Linked DNA regions of Homo sapiens: region 1 is linked to region 2. The links are contacts of gene promoters, found by promoter capture Hi-C in human tissues and cell types (Jung and others, 2019). All regions are on one chromosome and are shown on one strand. The core of a region is centred on a gene start or on the middle of the fragment in contact, and the rest is flanking DNA. Distances in the headings are between cores, read along the strand shown.

Region 1 (5,732 bases), core at 275-2,774, 300 kb before region 2:
TTGAGGCCATGAGTTTGAGACCAGCCTGGCCAACATGGTGAAATCCTGTCTCTACTAAAAATACAAAAATTGGCCGGGCGCGGTGGCTCACGCCTGTAATCCCAGCACTTTGGGAGGCCAAGACCGGCGGATCACGAGGTCAGAAGATCGAGACCATCCTTGCTAACACGGTGAAACCCCGTCTCCACTGAAAATACAAAAAAATTAGCCAGGCGTGGTGGCGGGTGCCTGTAGTCCCAGCTACTCGGGAGGCTGAGGCAGGAGAATGGCGTGAACCCAGAAGGCGAAGCTTGCAGTGAGCCGAGATCGTGCCACTGCACTCCAGCCTGGGCGACAGAGCGAGACTCCATCTCAAATAATAATAATCATAATAATAAAAATACAAAAATTATCTGGGGGTGGTGGTGGCCGCCTGTAATCCCAGCTACTCAGGAGACTGAGGCATGAGAATTGCTTAAACCCAGGAGGCAGAGGTTGCAGTGAGCTGACATCGTGCCACTGCACTCCAGTCTGGGCAACAGAGTGAGACTCCATCTCAAAAAATTAAAATTAAATTAAAAAATTAAAAAAGTACCCAAAAAGTCTTTTCCAAGATGTGATTTTAATTCTCTGCGTAGGATTTATTACTAACTGGTGATTCTTTAATTTGTGTATTGTTTGCTTCCCCCTACTAGAAACTAAGCTCTATAAGAATATTTTGTTTGATTGCTTCGCTGCTGTATTCTATTCCCAGTGTCTAGAACGTGCCTGAAACCTAGCAGACACTCAGTGTTTGTTAAATGAATAATCGAATAATAGTCCACCTACTAGGAGGGTTAAAGGCAGGGTTTCTAAAGTTGGAAGACCCAGAGTGGAATCCTGGGCCACGCACTCGTGTGATCTGCCGCAAGTTGTTGAACCTAAGGGTGTAAAATGGGGATTCCACCTCTGGGATAGGCGGAGCGAATGAAATGACATTTATAAAGCACTCCCTTCGCTCTGTGGCTCAGGAATTAGAGCACTGGTCTAGTAAAGCACTCTTGCTCCCTCTCCCTCTCTCCCTTAAGCGCTCTCTTCTTTCCCCCTCCTGCTCAGCCCCTCACATGGCCACTTCTCTTCGGCTTTGCATGACACTCTACACAGTCTAGAGTAAGCCTTTGAAATTTGCCGGGAATTAACGTCATCAGTCGGGAGGACGACAGCTACGCACGCGCGGGGCACCTCCTCTGTCTCGCGCGCTAACTTTGCAGCCCCGCCAGCCAATCAAAATTAGCGTCGGAGCCCGAGTGCCGAGGACTCACCAATCGGAACTAGGAGGCGGGCCACGGTGGAGGCAGCGGCGAGAGGGGGCGGGGACAAGGAGAGGGCACGCACGGTTCTCGCTGCTGGGGTCTCTGCCGGCCAATAGGAGAGGCCTGAGGCCTGAAGGCGGTGGGGCGGGGCATTGGCGGCTCCAGCAACCGGAGGCCGTCCCAGGGAGGGCCAATCGGAGTAAGGAGGTGGGAGAAACCTAGCCAATCAGTGTGCAGGACGGGCAAGGAGGGTGGTGGACGGCGAAGTCTCCTGCGGATGCCGCCCGCTCCCGAGCTTCTGTCAGGGGAGCCGGGCGTGCGGAGGCGGCTGAGGAGGCGGGAAGGCGGCAGTGGTTGAAGGGGTGATTGCTGACTAGCGGGGAGGGAGTGGGCAGCGATGGTGATGGCGGCGAAGAAGGGCCCGGGCCCGGGCGGCGGGGTCAGCGGGGGCAAGGCGGAGGCGGAGGCGGCCTCGGAGGTGTGGTGCCGTCGGGTGCGGGAGCTGGGTGGCTGCAGCCAGGCCGGGAACCGCCACTGCTTCGAGTGCGCCCAGCGCGGGGTCACCTACGTGGATATCACCGTGGGCAGCTTCGTGTGCACCACCTGCTCCGGCCTCCTGTGAGTGACCGGGAGGGAGTGGCCGAGGTCGGCGTGGGGGGACCCGGGGGCGGGGTGGGGAGGCCGGGGCTCCGGGGCGCGAGGGAAGGGGGCCGAGGTGAGGGGCGGAGGGGAGGTCAGGGAACGCGCCGGCTGTGGGGACGGGGTCGTCTGCTGCAGCGGTGTGGTGGGGAGGGGAAAGGGCAGGGGAGAGGAAGCAAGGCCGGAGTCGCTCTGCGGAGAGAAGGGTACGGGTGCAGAAAGACGCCCGGAGAGGGACCGAGAAACTCCCCGAGGGGGTCGAGGCAAACTGCAAGTGGGGAGGGAGAAAGTGCGGAGGATGGAAGGGAACTCGGAGTGGGATGGGGTGTCGGGACTTAAAGGGCCAGAAAATGACATGCACCTTTAGAGGGAACTTCATGCAGGTGGAAAGCAAAAAGGAAAAAGGTGGGGAAAGCCGGCCTGGAGATGGACGGGCACCTTTCTTCCTTCGGGCTTGTGTCCCTGCTGGAGTGTGAGATGCAGAAGCCAGCTGAAACTTGGTTGAAATTCCTATGATTAGAGTACAGGATTAAAAAAAAAAAAAAAAGCGAATTAACCCCGATTGACAGCCTAGAGATAGTGGCTGGAAGGGAGCCATGGTCCAGAGTTCAGGTGTAGATACTAATCTTAGCAGGGCTTTGAAATGTTACCCAGAAGGTAAAACTCTTACGAAATCTAAGAGATGAGAGCCAATGGGTTACCCTGGTAGAGAGCTTAGCTTTTTCAAACGTTTGCACGTCTAGGTGAGCCATCCTGAAGGTTAATCATTTACACCTTTAAGATCCCTGTTGCCATGACTGGATCCTGGTGGTAGCATCCAGGAAACTCTAGATTTTGGGGGGGCTTTGGTGCATCATCTGAGTGCTACTCTTGGCATTGGTACTGTTCGGTCATGCCAGAGTGAATTTACAGCCACAATTCTAGCCTAGATTTCTGGTTATATAGTAAAGCCCCCTCCACTCCCCTCTGCACTCCTCCTACTCCCAAATTAAGATATTATTTGGTTAGATGCATGATTAACATCTGATATCAGGCCTGGATCTCTGTTTTTTAATAAGTTTGTCAAGGGATTTATTTTGACAATTTTTTAGTCTTATTTTAAGACACTGTTGTTTTTGTTTTGTTTTTTAAAAAATGCTTTCCAGCCAGGCGCTGTGGCTCACGCCTGTAATCCTAGCACTTTGGGAGGCCGAGGCAGGCAGATCATGAGGTCAAGAGATCGAGACCATCCTGGCCAACATGGTGAAACCCCATCTCTACTAAAAATACAAAAATTACCTGGGTGTGGTGGCGCGCACCTGTACTCCCAGCTACTTGGGAGGCTGAGGCAGGAGAATCACTTGAACCCGGGAGGTGGAGGTTGCAGTGAGCTGAGATTGCGCCACTGCACTTCAGCCTGGCGACAGAGCAAGACACTGTCTCAAAAAAAAAAAAAAAAAAAAAAGCTTTCCCTGTCTTGATACCTTTAGGAGCCAGGGAGCGAGCACTATTGTTCTTGCAAGACAGATGGGAGAACAGAAGCAAAGAGAGGTTTCGTAACTTATCCAGTGCCATATGGGCATTGCGGTTTCCAACATTTGTTGTTTGATATTAGTGATGATCATGGCAGACCAGCAATGAGGATTTAGTTTTCTCAAGATACCGTTTGGAATTATTTACTTCGTTTTAACCTCCTTTGCTAAACTTCTCTCTGGGTTCTGATCAACCTCACTTGTGGGTTGTAAGGATGAACTTGACTTTGGTCTAAGTAAAAGTCATCGTGGCTCTTGGGATAATGATTGAGAACCCAAACAGTAATGTGTCATAAACTGAGATGGACTGAAATGAAGCAAGAGGATAGAGACTCGAGAGTGGGTGAAGAACTCTGGGGAGAGATTGAGCAACGTTTAGGAGTATGTATAGGGGTCGGGCTCGGTGGCTCAGTATGTATAGGAGGCCAAGGTGAGCAGATCACTTGAGGTCAGGAGTTTCGAGACCAGCCTGGCCAACATGGCGAAATCTCATCTCTTACTAAAAATACAAAAATTAGCCAGGCATGGTGGCAGGTGCCTGTAATCCCAGCTACTTAGGAGGCTGAGGCAAGAGAATTGCTTGAACCCAAGAGGTGGAGGTTGCAATGAGCCGAGATCGCACCACTGCACTCTCCAGTCTGGGTCGCAGAGCGAGACTCTGTCTCACAAAAAAAAAAAAAAAAGGAGTATGTATAGGGTAAAGTAGAAAGAGAAAGAGCTGATTCCTGAAGATCCTGCTATGAGAAGCAGAAGGATGAAACTGATGGATAAAATTGAGTAACTGGGAAGTGCTGACATTGTTATCATTATTTTGTAGATCTTTGTTAAAGTGTCCCACAGATAACATTTCCCTTATAATACCCCTCAATCAGGACACAAAGAAAGCTAAGGTATCTGGGACACGTTAAAAACCTGGTTTCTTTTTTCTTTTTTTGAGATGGAGTCTCACTCTGTTGCTTAGGCTGGAGTGCAATGGCGCGATCTCGGCTCATTGCAACCCCTGCCTCCTGGGTTTAAGCAATTCTCTTGCCTCAGCCTCCTGAGTAGCTGAGACTACAGGCACGCGCTACCACATCTGGCTAATGTTTGTATTTTTAGTAGAGACGGGGTTTTGCCATGTTGGTCAGGCTGGTCTCGAACTCCTGATCTCAAGTGATCCGCCCGCCTCGCCTCCCAAAGTGCTGGGATTACAGGCGTGAGCCACGGCACCCAGCCTGCTTAGCTTTTTGGTAAAGCATTATGAGACTAAACCAGGGAGTGATTCTCACAGAGGAGGATTTAGAGAGCATATTTTGGTGTTTGGGAAATGAGAAGCTAGACCAACCCTTTGTTAGTAGGAAATGAGAGTGAAATGAAAGATCAAGAGGTTAGGCCAGTAAATGAAGCTGAATTGAAGGTATGTTGAGAGTGAGAAATTTCAGGAGAAACTCTGCAAGAAAGCTGGAGTTTCCCTATAATTAGCATGACAAGGGCAAGGCATATAATCCTTGTAAAGGGGTCTTAACACAGTATTACCTGTGTCCCTTTGATATGCTGTGGGAAGGAGTGGGAGCTGGCAGGTGGGCTGTAAGGCAGAATGTGAGGCAGGGGATGCTTATTTCTGGAGGCATGGCTCCATGGTGGCACGGAGACCAATTAGCATCTTAAATCCCCATGATTGATTACCTGTAGATTAGGGTTTGGTGTTGGTGGGAAGTGAAAATTGTGGTCGGCTGACAGCCTGCATGTTTATTCATTCGGTCAGTCAACACGAACTTATTCAGTGCCTATCAAGCGCCAGACACTGTTTTAGGTACTGGAGATACAGTAGTGATAAGTTCCCATTTTCACGGAGCTGACATCCTAGTGGAAGCCATGGACTATAAAGAAATCGTTCTGTATTGCTAAAAGCTATGAAGTAAAATGAAGCTCTGTGGGTTAGAGTGATACCAAACTGAGGTATGATGCAAAGAGAAGAAATATTATTATTAATTTTTTTTTTTGAGATGGAGTCTCGCTCTGTCGCCCAGGCTGGAGTGCAGTGGTCCGATCTTGGCTCACTGCAACCTCCACCTCCTGGTTTCAAGCGATTCTCCTGCCTCAGCCTCCCCAGGTAGCTGGGATTACATGTGCACACCACCACGCCCAGCTAATTTTTGTATTTTTAGTAGAGACGGGGTTTCACCATGTTGGCCAGGCTGGTCTCAAACTCCTGACCTCAGGTGATCCACCTGCCTTGGCCTCCCAAAGTGCTGGGATTACAGGCGTGAGCCACTGTGCCTGGCCTCGAGAAGAAATATTCTTTGTTAAAATGAAGAGGATATTGAGGGAA
Region 2 (5,942 bases), core at 964-3,463:
ACATTTCTTGGTTCCCTGATGGGGAAGCGAGGTGAATGGCGGATGGTCGAGGCAGCTCCTTAGGCGGCTTAAGCCTGCCGTGTGGAACATCCCTGCGGGCGACTCTAACTAGCCCGGGCGACGCGGATCCTGAGAGTGCTCCCTGGTAGGCATTTGCCCCAGGAGGACGCTTCGCCAGAGCAGTGTGTGGCAGGCCCCTGTGGAGGATCAACACAGTGGCTGAACACCAGGAAGGAACGGGCACTTAGAGTCTGGACATCTAAAACTTGGTAAGACTAGTCTTTGAAACTTGCCCACTCCAGGCCAGGTGTGGTGCCTCAGGCCTGTAATCCCAGCACTTTGGGAGGCCAAGGCGGGCGGATGACGAGGTCAGGAGATCGAGACCATCCTGGCTAACACGGTGAAACCCCTTCTCTACTAAAAATACAAAAAAATTAGCTGGGCGTGGTGGTGGGTGCCTGTAGTCCCCACCAGAGCGAGACTCCGTCTCAAAAAAAAAAAAAAAAGAAACTTGCCCACTGCATTTAAGTGGAAGCGTGGCCTGATCACCCATGGTGTGCCTGTACCGGCACTTTAGTTTTTGTTTTTGACTTGACTTAGATTGCTTAATACTCTGGTTTTGGTTTTGACCTAACTTAGATTTCTAGATACTCTGATTTTAGTTTTGATTTTAGTTTGGTGCAAACTGCGAAAGTGTGTGTGTGCCCTTTTTACCTGTTCTTTGTTTTGTGGTGTGCGTGTGGTGTGAGTGTGGTGTTTTGTGTCGAAGAAGCATAGGTCAGGCACAAATAAGCCCACCCTGCTAGGAACTATGTTGAAAAATTTCAAAAAAGAATTTAAAGGAGACTATAGAGTACTATGACACGAGGAAAACTTAAAACTTTGTGTAAGATAGACTGGCCAGCATTAGAGGTAGGTTGGCCATTAGAAAAAAGCCTGGACAGGTCCCTTGTTTCAAAGGTATGGCACAAAGTAACCTGTAAGCCAGGGAACCCAGACCAGTTCCCGTACATAGACACTTGGTTACAGCTAGTTTTAGACCCCCCGCCCCCAACACACAGCGGTTGAGAACAGCAGCATAAGTGGCTGGCAGAGGCAAAGAAAGACCAGCAGAAAGAGAGAAAGGAAAGAGACAGAGAGGAAGAGACAGAGAGGAAAAGACAGACAGAGAGGGAGTCAAGGAGAGAGAGAAAGACAGAGAGAAAGAAATGCAGAGAGAGAGAAGAGACAGAGGCAAAAAGAAAGTCAAAGAGAGACAAAGTCAAAGAAAGAAAGAAAGAGAGATATACAAGCAGTTAAGAAAAAAAAAAGGTGTACCCTATTCCTTTAAAAGCCAAGGTAAATTTAAAACCTATAATTGATAATTGAAGGTATTCTCCGTAACCCTGTAACACTCCAATACCACTTTGTTGTCAGTGTAAACAAAGCCGTATCCGAAAGCACTGAGGCCTTCCTATCAAAAATCCTTAACCCAGTGACCCGCGGATGGCCCAAATGCATTCAGTCTGTAGCGGCAACTGCTTTGCTAACAACAAAAAAAAAGTAAAAAAAAAAAACTTTTAGAGGAAACCTCATTGTGAGCACACCTCACCAGTTCAGAAGTATCCTAAGGAAAAAAGAATTTTTTTTCCTTAGGGGGTGGAATTTATATAAAAAGAGTATTATATAGTAAATTGTTGTCCTGAAATAAATTAACTGGTTTAAAGAAAGAAATATTTGTAATAAGTCAAAAAGTTGAAGAATATCGAAGAATTGTCTGCGAAAACCATGAAAGAAAAAAAGTTATAAAAAAGAATTTATGCAAAAATGTAGTATAATTTAAAAGTAACTAGGCCTCCTGAATGTAAAACTATTTAAAAAAAAAAACAAACCAGTTTATGTGCAAGGTGTATAAGAAAAGTAAAATATACCTTTGGTAAGGAGGCATAAGAATGTACATTTTTACCTATGTTAAAAAGTTAAAACAAATTATTGTTTTAAAAGTTTAAGCAAGTTTTAAAATGTTAATTGTAAAGAAAATTCTGTATGTAAACATATTAGCTAAAGTTAAAGAAGTATCATCCAGTTTTTCTGTGAACTGGACATTAAAGTAAAAGCATAACAGGTTTTTCTTAAAGCACCAACCTGCTCTTTAGCAAAAATTATAAAAAGTTAAAAAGAGTCTATAAAATCTTACCTTATGGTCAAACATTAAAAATTAGATAAATATGTCTATAAAGTTTTATTAAAATTAGGTTTAACATTCATAACACACGAATATAAAGATAAAATTTAGCTTATCTGGTATGAAAATCATACGAGAAGCATTGTTAAATGTAAAAAAAATTTGGCTTTCTTTAGTTTAAAAACTAATAAAAATAGGTGCTAAAGGAAATTTCTCAGTAAAAAGGCACTAAGGACTATAAAGTCCACGGCCAAGGTCCCCACATTTAAAACAAAAAGACATTTTCTTAAAAATCATATACTTGGTTTACCTTCCACTTTCCTTTCTCTCAAAAACTAAAAGTCTTTTAGCACATGTACCACCCCTAGAATTTCCGGTAAACCAGCACCAGCCTGAAGATCATATTCTCATCAAACTGTGGAAGAAAAACTCAAGCCAGCCTGGGAAGGACCCTGCCTTGTGCTGCTAACCACCAAGACTGCTGTTCGTACAGAAAAAAAAAAAAAGAATGGACTCATCACATCCGAGTCAAGAAAGTGCCACCCCCTCCAGAGTTGTAGGCCATAGTCCCAAAGGAAAACCCTATCAAACTAAAGCTAAGAAAAACTTAACTCTTTTCATCTATTCTATTACTCTTTCTTCTTTCCTCATTCTATTGCTGACCATCTAGTTATTAACATAACCAAGTCAATTTCTCCTCAAACTATTGCATTTAATGATTGCTTTGTTATACCCTGTGAGGACTTGCCAAGTCAAAGACAGCTCTCTACTTCAGAAAAGCACTTCTGTCTCTCCTGACTCTCCTCAGACTGGGCATTAGTAAACTAGGACCATTTAATCCAGGGAGATTTCGATAAAGACCCCAGTGCCAACGAAGAGTCTTGCCCCCGACGTAGAGCTTTCATGCCATAGTTGGTCCAATGTTCTGTGGACCATTAAAGAGCAAAGATGGACTGCCCCAACCGGTTTTTATAATTTCCTAAAATCATACATTAATTTTACTAGAGGATCATAGAAGTTAAAGACTTAAAACAAATTTTAGCAATTAAGACAGGATACCAACATGCAAATGCCTAGTTAAAATGGATCAAATATTCCATCTGCACATTAAACAAAAGCAATTGTTATGCTTGTGCACATGGCAGGCCAGAGGCCCAGACTGTCCCCCTTCCACTAAGGTGGTCCTCCAGTCGACCAGGTGTAGGTTGCATGGTAGCTCTTTTCCAGGATTCTACAGCCTGGAGTAATAAGTCATGCCAAGCTCTCTCTGCTGTATCCCTAAGTCTGGCACCCTGCGGGTCAGCCCCTGAGGGCCATCCAGCTTCCGTCTCCCAACACTAAGTTCACTTCGTATCTCTCACTACAGGGAGGAAACTTAGCATTCCTTGGAGACCTGAAGGGATGCGATGAGCTTAAGAATTTTCAAGAGCTTATTAATCAGTCAGCCCTTGTTCATCCCTGAGCGGATGTGTGGTGGTATTTTGGTGGACCTTTACTAGGCACTCTGCCGAATAACTGGAGTGGCACTTGTACTTTAGTCCAATTGGCTATCCCTTTCACCCTGGCATTTCATCAACCAGAGGGAGAAAAAATAAGACATTGTAAAGCGAGAGAAGCCCCTTATGGGTCTTTTGACTCTCATGTCTATTTAGACGCAATTGGAGTCCCATGAGGAATACCAGATCAATTTAAAGCTTGAAATCAAATAGCTGCAGGATTTGAGTCAATATTTTGGTGAGTGACAGTTAATAAAAATGTAGATTAGATAAACTACATCTATTACAACCAACAGCAATGAGCTTTTCATGAGTTAAAAGAAAAACTCATGTCGGCCCCAGCCCTGAGGCTACCTGAACCCTTTACACCCTACGTGTCAGAAAGAGAAAAAAAGGCAGTTAGAGTTTTAACCCAGACTGTAGGGCCCTGGGCAAGGCCAGTGGCCTATCTCTCAAAACAACTAGACAAGGTTTCCAAAGGCTGGCCCCCAGGTTTAAGGGCCCTAGCAGCAATGGCCCTGTTAGCACAAGAAGCAGATAAACTAACCCTTAGGCAAAACCTGAATATAAAGTCCCCCCATGCTGTGGTAACTTGAATGACTACCAAAGGACCTCATTGGTTACAAATGCTAGATTAACCAAGTACCAAAGCTTGCTATGTGAAAATCCCCACATAACCATTGAAGTTTGCAACACCCTAAACCCCACCACCTTGCTGCCAGTATCAGAAAGCCCAGTTGAACATAACTGTATAGGGGTGTTAGACTCAGTTTATCCTAGCAGGCCCAACCTCCGAAACCATCCTTAAACATCAGTAGACTGTGAGCAGTATGTGGACGGAAGCAGCTTCGCCAGCCCCTGCAAAGTGACTCTGAAGAAGATGACAAGCCCTGCTCCAGTCACACCCGGAAGCTGACTGGTCCACGCATGGCCGAAGCATGAGAAAACTCATCGCAGGACTCATTTGCCTTAAAATTTGGAATTTTACAGTAAGGACTTCAACTGACCTTCCTCAGACTGAGGACTGTTCCCAGTATATACATCAAGTCACTGAGGTAGGACAAAAGGTTGCTATGGTCCTATTATTTTACAGTTATTATAAGTGTACTAGAACTCTAAAAAAGCCTTGTTTGTATAATGTTATTCTGTACAAGGTATGTAGCCCAGGAAATGACCAACCTGATGTGCGTTATGACCCACCTGAGCCTCCCATGACCACAGTTTTTAAAATAAGATTAAGAATGAAGACTGGTGGGGGCTCACAAACGATATGAGTAAAGTGTTAACCAAAACAGAAGAAAAAGAGGTGCCCAAACAAGTCACGTTAAAATTTGATGCCTGTGCTATCATTAATAGTAATAAGTTGGGAATAAGGTGTAGTTCTCTTAATTAGAAAAGAGGCTATATGGCAGAAAATAAGTACATCTGTCATAAATTAGGACTGTGTGGAAATAAATGTAAATACTGGTCTTGTGTCATTTAAGCCACTTAAATTAAAAAAAAATAAAAAGGACCCAGTCCACCTTCAGAAAGGAAAAAATGGCCCTTCCTGTACTAAAGGACAATGTAACCCTTTAGAGCTAGTAATAACCAATCCCCTTGATCCTCGCTAGAAAAAAGAGGAGCGTGTGACCTTAGGAATCAACGGGGCTGGACTGGATCCTCGAGTAAATATCTTAGTTCGAGGAGAAGTTTATAAACGCTCTCCTGAGCCAGTATTTCAAAACTTCTATGATAAACTAAAAGTGCCAGTACCAGAAATTCCAGGAAAAACAAGAAATTTGTTTTTGCAATTAGCCGAGCGTGCAGCCCAGTCTCTCAATGTCACTTCCTGTTATATATGTGGAGGAGCTGTAATAGGAGATCAATGGCCATGGGAAGCCCGAGAATTGGTACCTACATACCCAGTTCCTGATGAATTCCTGGCACAAAAAAATCACCCTGATCACTTCTAGGTCCTAAAAGCCTCAATCATTGGACAATACTGTATAGCAAAAGTGGAGAAGGACTTCATCCTTCCTGTAGGAAGACTGCATGGTGGACTTCAAACCACACAGAGAAAAATCCATTCACTAAATTTCCAAAGTTGCGGACCGTTTAGGCCCACCCAGAATCCCACCAGGACTGGACGGCCCCCACTAGGCTATACTAGATATGTGGACATAGAGCCTACGCTAGGCTGCCTGACCAGCAGACAAGTAGTTGTGTTATTGGCGCTATTTTATTTTATTTATTTATTTATTTTTTTGAGACGGAGTCTTGCTCTGTCGCCCAGGCTGGAG

The links. Contacts are between HindIII fragments. The study calls those that stand out against the background at their distance.
Region 1: the fragment with the promoter of AGFG2 here is called in contact with a fragment that was not itself captured in region 2 in 1 of the 25 tissues and cell types used here (spleen).

The regions. Positions count from the first base shown.
Region 1 is chr7:100,537,679-100,543,410 of GRCh38, forward strand. It overlaps AGFG2 (ArfGAP with FG repeats 2), which reads left to right and starts at 1,525. Exons shown (of 12, transcript NM_006076.5): 1 at 1,525-1,889. The coding sequence starts at 1,669. RefSeq lists an enhancer at 875-1,376 and silencers at 1,256-1,535, 1,586-1,885, 4,440-4,529. The HindIII fragment of the contact is 17,077 bases long and covers 1-5,732 here.
Region 2 is chr7:100,839,460-100,845,401 of GRCh38, forward strand. All of the region lies in intron 1 of SLC12A9-AS1 (SLC12A9 antisense RNA 1), which reads right to left. It also overlaps a transcript of SLC12A9 not described here. Among named protein-coding and RNA genes, the nearest start is that of SLC12A9-AS1, 10 kb to the right of the region's middle. The HindIII fragment of the contact is 3,742 bases long and covers 343-4,084 here.